5 separate regions of the Homo sapiens genome follow, and all the other regions are linked to region 1. The links are contacts of gene promoters, found by promoter capture Hi-C in blood cells and fetal thymus (Javierre and others, 2016). All regions are on one chromosome and are shown on one strand. The core of a region is centred on a gene start or on the middle of the fragment in contact, and the rest is flanking DNA. Distances in the headings are between cores, read along the strand shown.

Region 1 (2,770 bases), core at 141-2,640:
AAAATATCCTCTATTATCTGTCTTTCTAGCTGTTTATTTTTCCTTAAACAGCCTATACATAGTTGAATAATTACTCTGGGAAGCAATGGAATTGTAATTTGTGTTGAAGCCAGACACAATTTGGTTCAAATTCTAAAACTACCAGACACTAGACTGATCATGGCAATGTCTGACAAAAGTTTTCCTCCCCTACCTGCTCTCTCCCCTCCCTTTGGGGATTCGAAGGTAGAAGATAGTAAGAACAAGGCCTTTCCCCAAATAGCAGTTTTATCTCCCAAGATGATCTGGATTTTAAATTACTATGTGCAAAGTTACTAGGGATGCAAAAATGAATTAAAACAGATTTTACTGTAAAGGAATTTTTGAGTCTGATGGGGGAGTCAGACGTAGACATAAATACAAGACAAGACACGGCGAAAATCCTAAACATGAAGTTTGCAAGTTCCAGGAAAGGTCTAGGAAATAATTATCTCTAAGGAGTGGGTGGGATTAGGGAGGTTTTATAAAAAAAGTGACACTTGAATTGGGTACTGCAGGAACAGTCTAATGAAAGGTAAAGTCAGGGGGCTGGAAAGTTTGGTACCTATTGAGGCAGACAACAGCATTAGAGATCTATTACTTTAACAATTAATTGTTTTGCTTCTGCCTTTAGAAGCTTATTTATAGTTTAATAGGGAAATAAAACGAGTATATAACATACATAGAAAACTAGTGGGCTTCACGAAAAGCATTACACCCCGTTTTGAGGATTCTTCTGAATTTTAAATTCTGATGCAGTGTCCTCCCCCCACGCCTTAATCCCGGAAAATAAGTGTTCAGAATCACGTCTTAGAAATATGAACCATAAAGGACAGCATTTAAGAGCGACATCCTGCATTGCGTAGATTCAATTTCAAATTACTGTACTTAGCTTCTATGAGCCTGTTAACTTTTTAATAAAATGAGGATAATACTTTCCTCAAAGAATTGTTAAGAACGACACCGGATAAAGAATGCATGACAAACACAGCACCTAGTATCTATGTCCTAAATTTACGTTTAATTAAGTAGATTGGTACGTGCAGTTTAAAAGAGGTTTCACCAGGCAGCACAGTTCCCCTGGCTGTAGGCGATAGACCACGCCTTCCTAATCAGCGGGCGCATTCCCTGACTTTTGCGGAAATAGCGGTCCAAAACCGCGTCTAGCATTAGCAAAAGCACGTGGTCTCCGTCTCCCCGCAACAACAAAAAAGAACAGTAAACTCCGGCGCAGGCACCTCCAGTAGAGGGCTTGTTTTTAAAATCCATCCGAAAGGGCCAATCAGACGCGGCAGTCTGAGTGCGCAGGCGCGGATTGGTCCGCAGCTACTTAGAGTGACCAATAGGCGTGGAGGTAAGTTTGGTTGAGACCAGAAGCGGGCGAATTGGGCACCGGTGGCGGCTGCGGGCAGTTTGAATTAGACTCTGGGCTCCAGCCCGCCGAAGCCGCGCCAGAACTGTACTCTCCGAGAGGTCGTTTTCCCGTCCCCGAGAGCAAGGTGAGCGTCCTGACTGGGTCCGGATCCTGGCCCTGGCGGCGGGCGGTAGGCGGCGGGCGGCGTGGGGGTGCCGCTGGCTTTTTGCCGGCGGGTACTGGGCGGGGAGGCCTCTGGGATCACTCTCCCGGCCCTGTAGGTGCCGGGGACCGCCCCCTCCCACCCGACCGAACTGGAGAATCCGCCCCGGGATGTGGTTCGTAGGGGTGTCTGCGCCCTTCTGCTCGGGTTCAAACTGGTCTCGGATTAGTGTCCCAGACCCTACTCGGTCACGGACTCACACTTTAGGGGATCATTTTCTTCCTCCGTAAAAGAATTGGAGATGACTAGGTATTTCCAAGCCGCCTTCCCAGTCCCGTAACCAACCTTATTGAAATTCAGGCCCTGGTCCTTTGTTTTATTGAGTAGATGTAAGCTTGAGTTTTGATCTGGTTGGCGACGTGGGGTGCCTATGGTTAGTTACGCGAGCATTTCTCTTTCCCCTCTCTTCTTCCTCCCGTCCACATTTTTTTTTTTCTTTTTTTAAATAGAGATAGGCCTCCCTATATTGCCTAGGCTGGTCTGGAACCCCTGGGCTCAAGGGATCCTCCCGCCTTGGCCTCTGTAAGTGCCAGGATTACAAGCATGAGCCACTACGCCCGGTCCTCCCTTCCACATTTATTTGAACGCGCCTGTGTGCCCGGCTCGGCTGTGTAATGAGGACCCAGAAATAAAAGGCATGGGTCGTGTCCTTGAGCCTGACCTAGAGGAGAAGGCAGGGTTATCATTCTCAGACCCAGCCTTGGTACAGTGCACGGGGACTCTGGCTTTTTGGAGGAGGTGGGGAATTCTGACAACGGGAAAGCAGTGGTGGAGGTGGGGCAGGAGGAGGTCACACAAGAGCTTCCTTGGGGACTAAGGGACTGGGTAGTTCGGGCATGAAGAGTGCCCTCCACGTATTTAAGAGATAAAGATACAGCATTTTCTGGAAAGGACAATAGTCCTGCAAGTCCTCCATGCAGGAACCTTCATCCAGGGCTTTTCTTCACTCCCCACCTCGATTCCCTGTTCCTCAAAAGTAAACTTCTGGGTTTATTTTTTTGTTCTTTTGCCCCAATGGCCCAATACAGGTGGCTGATAGCTGATCCCTTAATGGGCCAAAATCTGCTCTAATCACAGTTAGCTTGGTCTACATCTATATTGTTCTCTATCTTAGACTTTGGAATGGAAAAGCATTCAGCTTGCCAGTCTTCTTTATGTTTATTCCCCTCATTTTC
Region 2 (2,770 bases), core at 271-2,770, 1.8 Mb before region 1:
AGCATGACATTATTAATGGAGACAAACAAACATAAACAGAGAGAAAGAGGTAAAGCCACAGAAAGGGGGTATAGAAAGTTTACTCTCCCCAAGTACTCTCCAAAATAGTACCTTATGTCCTAGAAGGAAGAGGGATGGGGAAGGGGAACTCAAAGAATTTTGCTTTATGCTACTGTTTGAATTTTTTTATGAGCATATATTTTGTACCCTTTGTATAATTAAAAATAACATAAACCAAATTACTGATAATTATGAGTTAAAGTACATATTCTACATTTCAAAGATTTCATAAAGTAAAATCCTTATTTTATTTTTTGTTTGTTTGTTTTTTGTTTTTTTTGAGATGGAGTTTCACTCTTGTCAACCAGGCTGGAGTGCAATGGCGCAATCTTGGCTCACTGCAACCTCCGCTTCCCAGGTTCAAGCGATTCTCCTGCCTCAGTCTCCCGAATAGCTGGGATTACAGGCAAGCGCCATCACACCCGGCTAATTTTTGTATTTTTAGTATAGACAGGGTTTCACCGTGTTGGCCAGGCTGGTCTGGAACTCCTGACCTCAGGTGATCCGCCCGCCTCAGCCTCCCAAAGTGCTGGGATTACAGGCGTAAGCCATCGCGCCCGGCCTATGTATGTTTTAAAATTATTTTCTAGAATTACTTTCAAGAATTGCTGAGAAAACATATTGTCTTTGTAACATTCATTGCAGACTGCTACCAATACTGTTTTTAAAGAAAATCTGCTACTTAATATGCAGTTTTAAACAGAGATACAAAATAAAGCTTCTGCTTTATTTAAAATAAAACACAAGTGAATTCCTGTGGTAGTCTAAGCCCTGTAAACTTTATCTTATAATTCACTTTATCGTCCCACTAAATAGGATATAATAGGTTAAGCCAAGTTCCTCTTTTTCTGTAAGACACCTAAATGTTTTAAATACCTTAGCATTTCCTAGAATCAGACAAATTCTAAGATTATACAACAAAAGTCTTCTCCCAAAAAACTACTAAAAACGTCCTGAGATATATCCCTATTCTTGCCTTGCTTGCAAGGAGGGAATGACGTAAGAGTCACTATATACAAAACTACATACAGAGTCACAACCCAGGAAGTGTTTCTTCATTCTTCCACTGAACCTTTTTTTTTTGAGATGGAGTCTCGCTCTGTCACCCAGGCTGGAGTGCAGTGGCGAGATCTGGGCTCACTGCAAGCTCCGCCTCCCGGGTTCACGCCATTCTCCTGCCTCAGCCTCCCGAGTAGCTGGGACTACAGGTGCCTGCCACCATGGCCGGCTAATTTTTTGTATTATTATTATTATTGTTTTAGTAGAGACGGGGTTTCACCATGTTAGCCAGGATGGTCTCGATCTCCTGACCTCGTGATCCGCCCGCCTCGGCCTCCCAAAGTGCTGGGATTACAGGCGTGAGCCACCGCGCCCGACCCCTTTTGCCTGTTTTAGAGTGAAAACATTTTCTTTACAAGACTAAAATAGGTTAAAAAAAATTGTGTTGGTTGAAAACTTTACTAAGATCATACATTTGCCTCTATACCACATTTCCCAAGCCTTTCTTAAATATTTTTGCAAAGCCCTGAAGGTGGTAGTTTTTTGGGAACACAAGAAATAAAGGGATTGTGTGCTTCCTTATAACAGGCACCAATCTACTTATATTAGCGGAAAAAATTTAAAAGCTCATAATACCGCACATTTGTGAGTTATGAATGACCACAGTGCAAACAGTAAAAATAAAGGTTAATAGGCCGGGCGAGGTGGCTCACGCCTGTAATACCAGCACTTTGGGAGCCCAAGGCGGGCGGATCACGAGGTCAGGAGATCGAGACCATGCTGGCTAACACGGTGAAACCCTGTCTCTACTAAAAACACAAAAAAATTAGCCGGGCGTGGTGGCAGGCGCCTGGAGTCCCAGCTACTCAGGAGGCTGAGGCAGGAGAATGGCGTGAACCCAGGAGGCGGAGCTTGCAGTGAGCCGAGATCGCGCCACTGCACTCCAGCCTGGGCGACAGAGCGAGACTCTGTCTCAAAAAAAAAAAATAAAATAAAATAAATAAATAAATAAAACATGCAAAAGGAAAGATCAAATGCTGCTTGGGTGAATGGCTGACTTCCAGAATTACCCTTTCCAGGAGAATTCCTCATTGTCTGCGGCTGCATTGTCCAACAGGTGAGCCACTAGCCACTTTGTAGTTACTGAGCGCTTAAATGTAACTAGTTCGAAGATGTGCCGTAAATGCAGCACACCAGATTTGAAAAGCTTAGTACGAACAAAAGAATGTAAAATATCTCATTCATTTGATATTATTACATGTTAAAATACCTTGGATTTATTGGGTTAAACAAAATGTCTTATTTCCATTAACTTCACCTATTTCTTACTTTTAGTTTAAAACTACATAAAGATTAGCTTGCCTTGTATTTTCACTGGACAGCGCTGGTCTAAGTAATTAATAAGACCCAGCTGACATTAGCATCTATTTCTTTCTCCTCTAGCGTTTCTCGAACTGGTTCTACAGTAGCCTGGGGCACCGTTAATTCTGCCAAGGCCTGGCGTGGGATCTTTCTGAATCCTAAGATCCTGGGTGTTGGGTAAGAGGATGATGAGTAAAGAACTGGCTAACTGGTCCCGTACCCACTGCGCATCTCGCAGAGCGGGCTCCCGAATCTCCTCCGGCAGAGCGTCCCCGAGCTTTTGCACGAAGCGGCCGCACAGTTGTAGCATTTCGGTCACAGCCCGCTTCGAGGTGCAGCGCACCCGAAA
Region 3 (2,770 bases), core at 187-2,686, 1.6 Mb before region 1:
CGCCTCCCGGGTTCAAGTGATTCTCCTGCCTCAGCCTCCTGAGTAGCTGGGATTACAGGCATGTGCCACCATGCCTGGCTAATTTTGTATTTTTAGTAGAGACAGGGTTTTTCTACATTGGTCAGACTGGTCTCCAACTCCCAACCTCAGGCTATCTGCCCACCTTGGCCTCCCAAAGTGCTGAGATTACAGGCATAAGCCACTGCGCCCAGCCTGTTAACATTTATTTTATAGCCCAGGATATGGCCTGACTTGTTGAATGTTTTCTGTACACTTGAAACAAACATTTTCTGCTACTATTGAGTGGCGTGTTCTATAAATGTCTATCAGGTAGAGTTGGTTGATAGAGCTTTTCAGGTTTTCTGTATCCTTATTCATTTATTTGTTTACATGTTTTGTCAATTACCGAGAGAGGAGCGTTGAAATCTTTTTTGTTTTTTTTGAGACAGATTCTTGCTCTATTGCCCACGCTAGAGTGCAGTTGCATGATCTTGGCTCACTGCAACCTCCACCTCCCTGGTTCAAGTGATTCTTGTGCTTCAGCCTCCCAAGTGACTGGGGTTACAGGAATGTGCCACCACGCCGGCTAATTTTTGTATTTTTAGTAGAGATGAGGTTTTGCCATGTTGGCCAGGCTGGTCTTGAACTCCTGGCCTCAAGTGATCTACCCACTTCAGCCTTCTAAAGTGCTAGGATTACAGGCATGTGCCACCATGCCAGGCCTGAGTGTTGAAATTTTAACTATAATTGTGGATTTGTCTATTTCTTCTTTTAGTTCTAATCGTTTTTGCTTTTTACATTTTTAGTTTTGTTATTAGGTATATACACATTTAGAATTGCTCTGTCTTCTTTATGAATTGAATTCTTTAAGTTTTGTCCTTCTTTATTCCTGATCATATTTCTTTGTCTTAAGTATTTCTAGTAGTGTTTTCGTGGCACATGTTTTTCCACTTTTTAAATTTTTAATCAATAATATCTGGTAAATCAAAGAAACTCAGAGAACATGGAGAGGAAGTTGCTAAGGATGATATCAAATAGCTAACTAATGTAATTAAATGGAGAGTAAAACCAGTCATGGAGATAGAAATAGGTATATGAGGGGAAAAAATGTTGAGATTTTGATTTGTTCTGTTTCCAGTGTTAGATATATAATAAAGATGTAGGTAAAGTGAGTCAAGTCCTGGAAGAGAGATATGCTGGGAGATAGACATTTGCAAGTCAATGGGAATAAAGAACAAAGGATCAAAGGCAAAATCTTGAGAAACAAGAATACTAAAAGTTCTTGGAAGGAATAGAAACCAGCAAAGGAGACTGAAAAAAGAGCAAGTCATCTGAGTATAAAAGAGAAAAGAGAAATAATGCTGACTCATATGCTAAGAATATACAAAAGTTTTAAAAAGGTAGAAATGGTCAGAGACTTTCAAAATCCAGAAATATTGGGCAAATTGAGGTCACTGGAAACTGTTTTCAGAGCAGTTTCAGAGTAGCAATATAGAGGTGAAACCAGATTGAATTGGACATGGGAATAAATGGGTGATGATGCAATGTTGATGTAGATTACTTTAAAATCAACTTAAACAACTTTGACGGTGAGTGGAAGGAGAAAGAAAGGAAGAAAAGAAGGCAAAATGAATAATGCCCTTTACTCCCTTCTCTCCTGGCTAACTCCCATCTCTCTTCCAAGACTCAGTCTTCTATCAGAAAGCCTTAGGCGATCTTCCATCCTGAATTGATGTGCTCTTTAGTACTCCATATATACATTCACCATGGTACTTATCACAGTATATTTTGTGTCTTTATTTTTCCTACTAGATGGTACTTGAGAACAGGGACTATCTACCTTTTTTTTTTTTTTTTTTTTTTTGAGAGAAGTCTTGCTCTTGTCCCCCAGGCTGAAGTGCAATGGTGCGATCTTGGCTCACCGAAACCTCCACCTCCCGGGTTCAAACGACTCTTTTGCCTCAGCCTCCCAAGTAGCTGGGATTGCAGGCGCCTGCCACCACGCCTGGCTAATTTTTTGTATTTTTAGTAGAGACGGGGTTTCACCATGTTGGCCAGGCTGGTCTCGAACTCCTGACCTGAGGTAATCCGCCCGCCTCGGCCTCCCAAAGTGTTGGGATTACAGGCGTGAGCCACCGCGCCCGGTCGGAGAACAGGGACTATCTTTGTAACTCCAATGCCAAATTGGCATCATGTCTGGCACATAGTAGGTGGTGAATTCAGGTTTAATGAATGACTAATAGACTTAGATATATGTAGGTTGAAAAGAAGGAGCCAGTGGTGAGAAAGAGATTAAACATACAGAAAGGAGATTTGGAATGTCATTGAAACAGTGTCTTAAGGTTTGCCAAAGAGGATGGGATTCAGATCACATGTGGAGTCATTAGCTGTAAAAATGAGCAAGTGATATGTGTACGTTTCAGACTGGCATGGAAATGTGAGAAGACAAAGGAATTGGTACTAAGGGCCATAGCTGCTTCTTCCTCTTCTTTTTTCCCTGTAAAGAAGAGTGGTGGTGCGGAGAGTAGGGAGGCAAAAGGAAGAGGAACAGAGTCTTTAGGATAATGGCAAAGACTTGGCATGAATATTTTGTGGAATGAAAAGGAACCTTGATCACAAAAAGATAAAGGAACTGCCAAGCGTTGATAACAACCTCAGCTGAAATTGGAAACTGTAGTGAGTGACTCGGAGAGGTCGAGTGACATATTTCTTTCTTCTAGCCAGAGGCGGACTCCAGATTTTCGAACCTGTGGGGATTTTTAAAAGATTG
Region 4 (2,770 bases), core at 165-2,664, 1.0 Mb after region 1:
GCTATCAATAGTATTTGCTATCAATTTATAGTTATATCAATTAAGTGTAAAAAGTAATAAGTATTAAAGGCTTTTTTATTCTCAACACCATGGTGGGGTCTAAAACAGACCTTGCCTTAAATTTCTCTTATTGAAAGGATCACATCACATGCACACATGAACTATAGACTAATTCAAAATGTATATGTGATTTGAGGGTTATATTGTGTCATATTTTAACCTAAGCCTCAGAAGCCTCAGTCTACTCATCTGTAGAGTGGGATGTGTGTGTGTGTACATATATACTTGATAAAAATAAATTAGCTGGGGGTATATATATATATTTTTAGTATATATATACACACTATATAGACACTACATATATATACTATATATTTTAGTGTATATATACACTATATATATATATGTATGTATGTATGTATGTATATAGTATTTTTAGTAGAGATGGGGTTTCACCATGTTGGCCAGTCTGGTCTTGAACTCCTGACCTCTGGTGATCTGTATATATACATATATATACACACATATATATGGATTTAGTTCAAACGGTAAATGGAAGAGGCAGAATGCTAGCTATTTGTGCTCCATTTCTTCCCACTCTTGTGCTGTATTTTGTATTTATCAAATAGGGTTAGTAATGTTGGTTATAATGTTATAATAAACAGATAACTTGCCAAGTACTGGCACCTTCAAAAGCTTGTTATTGAGTCCCTTTGCACATTGCCCATTATTAGTACCGTAAAAAGCAAGCAAAAATGACAATACAGTATAATAGTTACAAATAGGAGCTCTGTAGTCAGATGATGTTTTTAAGAACCCAAACCCATAAAAATAATTGCTAGCTGTGTAATCTCTCATTAAATCACTCATCTCTCTAAACCTCAGTTCTTTTTGTAAAAAATGAGGATGATAATAGAACCTACTTCCTACAGTTTGTGAAGATTAGATGTAATAATTCATCTGAACTTTCAATGTATTATGTTGAATGTATAGCAATTGCTGTTTTGCATGTCAAAAATGATCAGTTAGCAATTCATTGTTTCAACCAAATATAATTATCCCTGCCTTTTAAAAACTTTAGATCTGAAATGGACTCATGTAGTTGAGGTTACAACAACATCAAACAGCCTGTGATTTTAAAATGCATATTATATATATGTATATATTATACAATCATTCTGAACAGGCCAGAAGGATGGTACATTTTTTTATATAGTGTTAGGGAACCTGGGTCCAGCGAACTCCCTTTATTATTTGCTATTAGTCAAGAAAGGCTTCATGGAAGTCATCAACTTTTCAGTGAAGGAAAAGTGAGAACTTGGAGGAGAAAGATGAGAGCAAATCCAAAAACAGAAGCAGATGATTGAAAGAAGTGGAGGTGAATAATTTTACCCCAGAGGAGTAAACACAGGAGCTAACTTCCTAGCTGGTTATGTTTCTTTTCTTTTCTTTCTCTCCCTCCCTCCCTCCCTTCCTTCTTTCCTTCCTTCCTTCCTTCCTTCCTTCCTTCCTTCCTTCCTTCCTTCCTTCCTTCCTTCCTTCCTTCCTTCCTTCCTTCCTTCCTTCCTTCCTTCCTTCTTTCCTTCCTTCCTTCCTTCTTTCCTTCCTTCCTTCCTTCCTTTTTTCCTTTTTTTCTTTTTTCAGAGTCTTGCTCTGTCACCCAGGCTGGAGTGCAGTGGGGCCATCTCAGCTCACTGCAACTTCCACCTCCCAGGTTCAAGCAATTCTCCTGCCTCAGCCTCCTGAGTAGCTGGGATTACAGGTGCGCACCACCGCGCCCAGCTAATTTTTGTATTTTTGGTAGAGACGAGGTTTCACCATGTTGGTCAGGCTGGTCTCTATCTAACTCTGGACCTCGTGATCCGCCCACCTCGGCCTCCCAAAATGCTGGGATTACAGGCGTAAGCCACTGTGCCTGGCCTATCTGTTTATTTTCTAACAGGCCCAGTGGAATGGTAGGTACTGCAGCGGGCATCTAGGAAGTTAGCACAATGAAATTTGATAGTTGGCAAAAATTCTAGGATTTTTGTTATTGTAGCCGCTCAGAGACTGATAATAAATGTTATATCACGAAGAGGTTACCTTTCAAAGAGCCAATGATTTGTACCCACTGGACTGAAATTATGAAAGATGAAGCTTATAAATAGTAACACCCTCATTTGTCATCATTTCCTAAGGTTTTGGAAAGCAACCATGTTCACCTGTTGATACAAAATATTCTTTTTGCGTCTACCCATACACCAATAGGAAAAGGCAAAACAAAAAAAGTACCTTTTTGTTTTAGTAAAACAAGTGCTTGTATTTTATGCCTTGTTTTAGGCCCATTCCAATGTTTCCTGTCATCTGCTCCAAGTATATGAAGTATAACCTGTTTGCTGCTTATTTATTTATTTATTTTGAGATGGAGTCTCTGTCACCCAGGCTGGAGTGCAGTGGCGCGGTCTCGGCTCACTGCAACCTCCACCTCCTGGGTTCAAGCAATTCTCCTGCCTCAGCCCCCCTAGTAGCTGGGATTACAGGTGCCCACCACCACACCTGGCTAATTTTTGTATTTTTAGTACAGACAGGGTTTCACCATGTTGGCCAGGCTGGTCTCAAACTCCTGTCCTCAGGTGATCCGCCCACCTCGGCCTCCCCAAGTGCTGGGATTACAGGCATGAGCCACCACGGCTAGCCAATAAGCATTTATTTTTAAGCATCTATTGCATACCAGAAGAACAAGACAAAGTTTCTACCCTGCTTATCAAACAACTGAAGTAACATTAGTAAA
Region 5 (2,770 bases), core at 186-2,685, 1.0 Mb after region 1:
TCTACCAAAAAAGAGGAAAACAAAAAAAAGATGTTTTTTATTTTACCTGGTTTTAATATACTTAAATTTAGGAGATGTGATTTTTTTTTTTTTTTTTGCTCTCTTGGCATATCTTATTGCAAAATATTTATTATGACCCTGCTAAGAGGAATTTTTATTAAATTTTTCAAGTTTTACTTTTAATATAAATTGGGTTGATTATATTATGGTTTAATGCTAAAACTGTAGATTTAAATGTGTATTTTGATATTTTGTCATCTCAAAAATAATAAAAATTACAATTGTAGAGATTATTTGAAGAAAATAAGCTTTTCTTGGGTTTGTAGTTCTTCATAATATAAAATTTTTAATTAAATATTAATTGGATACATAAAAAATTAAATACTAATTTTCAAGTTTAACGAATAGTACTTTCTGATTACAAAGTAAAATTCTATTGAAGAAATTCATTGTGTATGGAAGATGATTTCTAAAAGGCTTTGTGAAAATTGCATTGTGAGTTGGGTGTGTCAGTAAAGCTTGCTTTCTAGAGGAGTCTTACATTAACTCCTTTTGTAGAGCAGTTCTTGCCCAACTTAAAATTTTTACAAACATGGTTTTCATGTGTCAGATTTGTTTTTGTGAAGGCTGGCTAGAAGATAATGCATCTTTTGTGAAAGATGTAGTGAAAGTTTCTCAATCTAATTAAACACCATGTGGAGCTGAAATTCAGTCCATAGCTGAATGATTATGCTTTTATTGAATGTGTAATTGTTTGTGGTATAAGTATGCCTTGCTAAAACAGTCTCTGTTAGGTTTTCATAAAACATTACTCCCCTGCCCCACTGAGGAGTTTCTAACTCTTGCTGGTTCCTCATCTTTTGCCCAGTTGCTGAGTGTTGGATTGCCCTTGAGCTCTTTCCTGGACTCTGTATTCTTTATCTGCACTTTCCTAGTTATTTGAATAGTAATTATATGTCAGTGGTTCCCAAACTTTCCTCCACCTGTGACCATCCAAAGAGTTCCAAACCCTGTATATCCAGTGTCTGGATCTCTGGTTGTATGTTTAATAGGCATCTCAAATTTAAGTTGGACAAAATAAAACTTAATGATTTCTCCCTCAAAAGCCATCTTAGTATACAGTATCACCATCTACTTATCTACTCAAGCTGAAAATCTAGGAATCACCCTTGATTTCTCCCTTTCTTTCACCTCCCACATAGTACAATTCATCAGTAAGTCCTGTTGGTTTTGCTGCCACATTATGTCACAAATCCAGTCACTTTTCATTGCTGTCAGTCTAGTGTCTCACGTCATCATCCTTTCTCCCCTAGATGACTGTAGTAACTTCTCAACTTTTCCCTCTCTATGGTACATGTTCCACACAGCAGCCAGAAGCATCTTTTAGAAACACAAACGAAGTTTGATTCCTGATGGCTTCTAATTGTATTTAGAATAAATTTAAATTTCTACCATAGCCTGTATGGCTTTTCTTGTTCTAGATTCTACCTACCTTTAAAATTTCTTCCCAATCCCATGTCACTTTTCTCATTGCTGATAACACTCTAACCTGTTGGCTTTTCTATTTCTTAAAAATGCCTTCGAACTTTTGTGTTTGTTCTTTTTATTTGAAATGGTTTGCCCATAGGTATTTGTTTGACTGCATTCTTGTCATTCTGGTGCCGTTTCAAAGCCCTTCTCAATGAGTGCCCCTTGGCCACCTGCTTTAAATTAAATTAGCCAAACCTCTGTCCAACAATAACTTTCTCTAACGGTACCTTGCTTTGTGTTCTTCATAGCTTTATCACTTATTCATTTATTTGCTTGTTTATTATCTCTATCTCTTCTAGAAAATTCTCCAATAGCAGAAACTTTGTTGTGTTCTCAGCACTTAGCATAATTCTGACACGTAAAAGATGCTGAATAAATGTTATGAAATAAGGCAATTCAGTTCTCTGAGAAAATGGGCCGTTTTGAAGGGTTATTGTGATGTTTAGATGATAATGTATAGAGATACTCTGTAATAATTGCTATTATTTTGGTGGTTATAATGTTATTGTGGGATGTGATACCAAGGAACTACTTTGTAAAACTTGCATTTTAACATCAGATATTTCATGTAGGTTTGAAACTTTTGTAAGTTTGTCAAGAGAAATATCCTTTTTAACAAAAAATCTGGAGTATTTTGTGTATACTCAGTTATGTTATTCTGCCACCTGGTGGATATTAACACATATGTAATGACATTGTTTTCCCTATAGTGCATTTTAATCCCTTAAAGAAAAACTTTGGATAATGACTAATATTAGCAAAATTGACGTAATTGTCCAATTGAATCAACTAAAAATATTTAAATTATTTTTCTGAATCCTAGTAAGCTTAGTAGTGAAATCAGGAAATGATTTCCCGTGAAACTAAATAGCCTAGAACAAAATGTCCCCTTTTCACCAGAAAACTGACAGTCTAATAATTGAGAATTTTGTTATATAAGAATAGAAAGTACACAGATGTTACTTATTGCTGTTTGCCAAAATTAAATTTCTTTCTAAAGTTTTGTTTAAAATATGTGTAACTGTAGAATATGTAACACATTTTTACCCAGTAGTAAATATTATGTATGTGTGTATATAAGAAATTTTAGATACTTTCCTAATATTTACTGATGAGTTCATAGTTCATTGCTAATAATAACATATTTTCTAAAATCATAAATGGCAAAATCAGTATATTTTTTATTAAAGCATGCCAAAAAAAGTAGTTTTTGCATTAGTGATACACTTTATGGTGTATA

Evidence for each region. The method cuts DNA at HindIII sites, captures the fragments that hold promoters and counts their contacts. A CHiCAGO score of 5 or more calls a contact.
Region 2: a contact is called between a fragment that was not itself captured here and the fragment with the promoter of CENPF in region 1, in 1 of 17 cell types (fetal thymus). The highest score is 11.3, in fetal thymus.
Region 3: a fragment that was not itself captured here is called in contact with the fragment with the promoter of CENPF in region 1 in 2 of 17 cell types (fetal thymus and naive CD4 T cells); the score reaches 7.3 in fetal thymus.
Region 4: a contact is called between a fragment that was not itself captured here and the fragment with the promoter of CENPF in region 1, in 1 of 17 cell types (monocytes). The highest score is 5.2, in monocytes.
Region 5: a contact is called between a fragment that was not itself captured here and the fragment with the promoter of CENPF in region 1, in 7 of 17 cell types (M2 macrophages, monocytes, erythroblasts and 4 more). The highest score is 11.3, in M2 macrophages.

The regions. Positions count from the first base shown.
Region 1 is chr1:214,601,805-214,604,574 of GRCh38, forward strand. CENPF (centromere protein F) reads left to right here and starts at 1,391. Exons shown (of 20, transcript NM_016343.4): 1 at 1,391-1,517. RefSeq lists a silencer at 1,285-1,494. The HindIII fragment of the contact is 1,274 bases long and covers 654-1,927 here.
Region 2 is chr1:212,788,889-212,791,658 of GRCh38, forward strand. It overlaps NSL1 (NSL1 component of MIS12 kinetochore complex), which reads right to left. Exons shown (of 6, transcript NM_015471.4): 1 at 2,642-2,770. Among named protein-coding and RNA genes, the nearest start is that of NSL1, 1.5 kb to the right of the region's middle. RefSeq lists an enhancer at 1,562-2,340. The HindIII fragment of the contact is 1,488 bases long and covers 777-2,264 here.
Region 3 is chr1:213,047,973-213,050,742 of GRCh38, forward strand. No RefSeq gene overlaps it. Among named protein-coding and RNA genes, the nearest start is that of RPS6KC1, 1.9 kb to the right of the region's middle. The HindIII fragment of the contact is 3,639 bases long and covers 1-2,770 here.
Region 4 is chr1:215,625,907-215,628,676 of GRCh38, forward strand. All of the region lies in intron 71 of USH2A (usherin), which reads right to left. Among named protein-coding and RNA genes, the nearest start is that of KCTD3, 60 kb to the left of the region's middle. The HindIII fragment of the contact is 1,440 bases long and covers 695-2,134 here.
Region 5 is chr1:215,604,578-215,607,347 of GRCh38, forward strand. The region is part of intron 13 of KCTD3 (potassium channel tetramerization domain containing 3); the gene reads left to right. Among named protein-coding and RNA genes, the nearest start is that of KCTD3, 39 kb to the left of the region's middle. The HindIII fragment of the contact is 1,839 bases long and covers 517-2,355 here.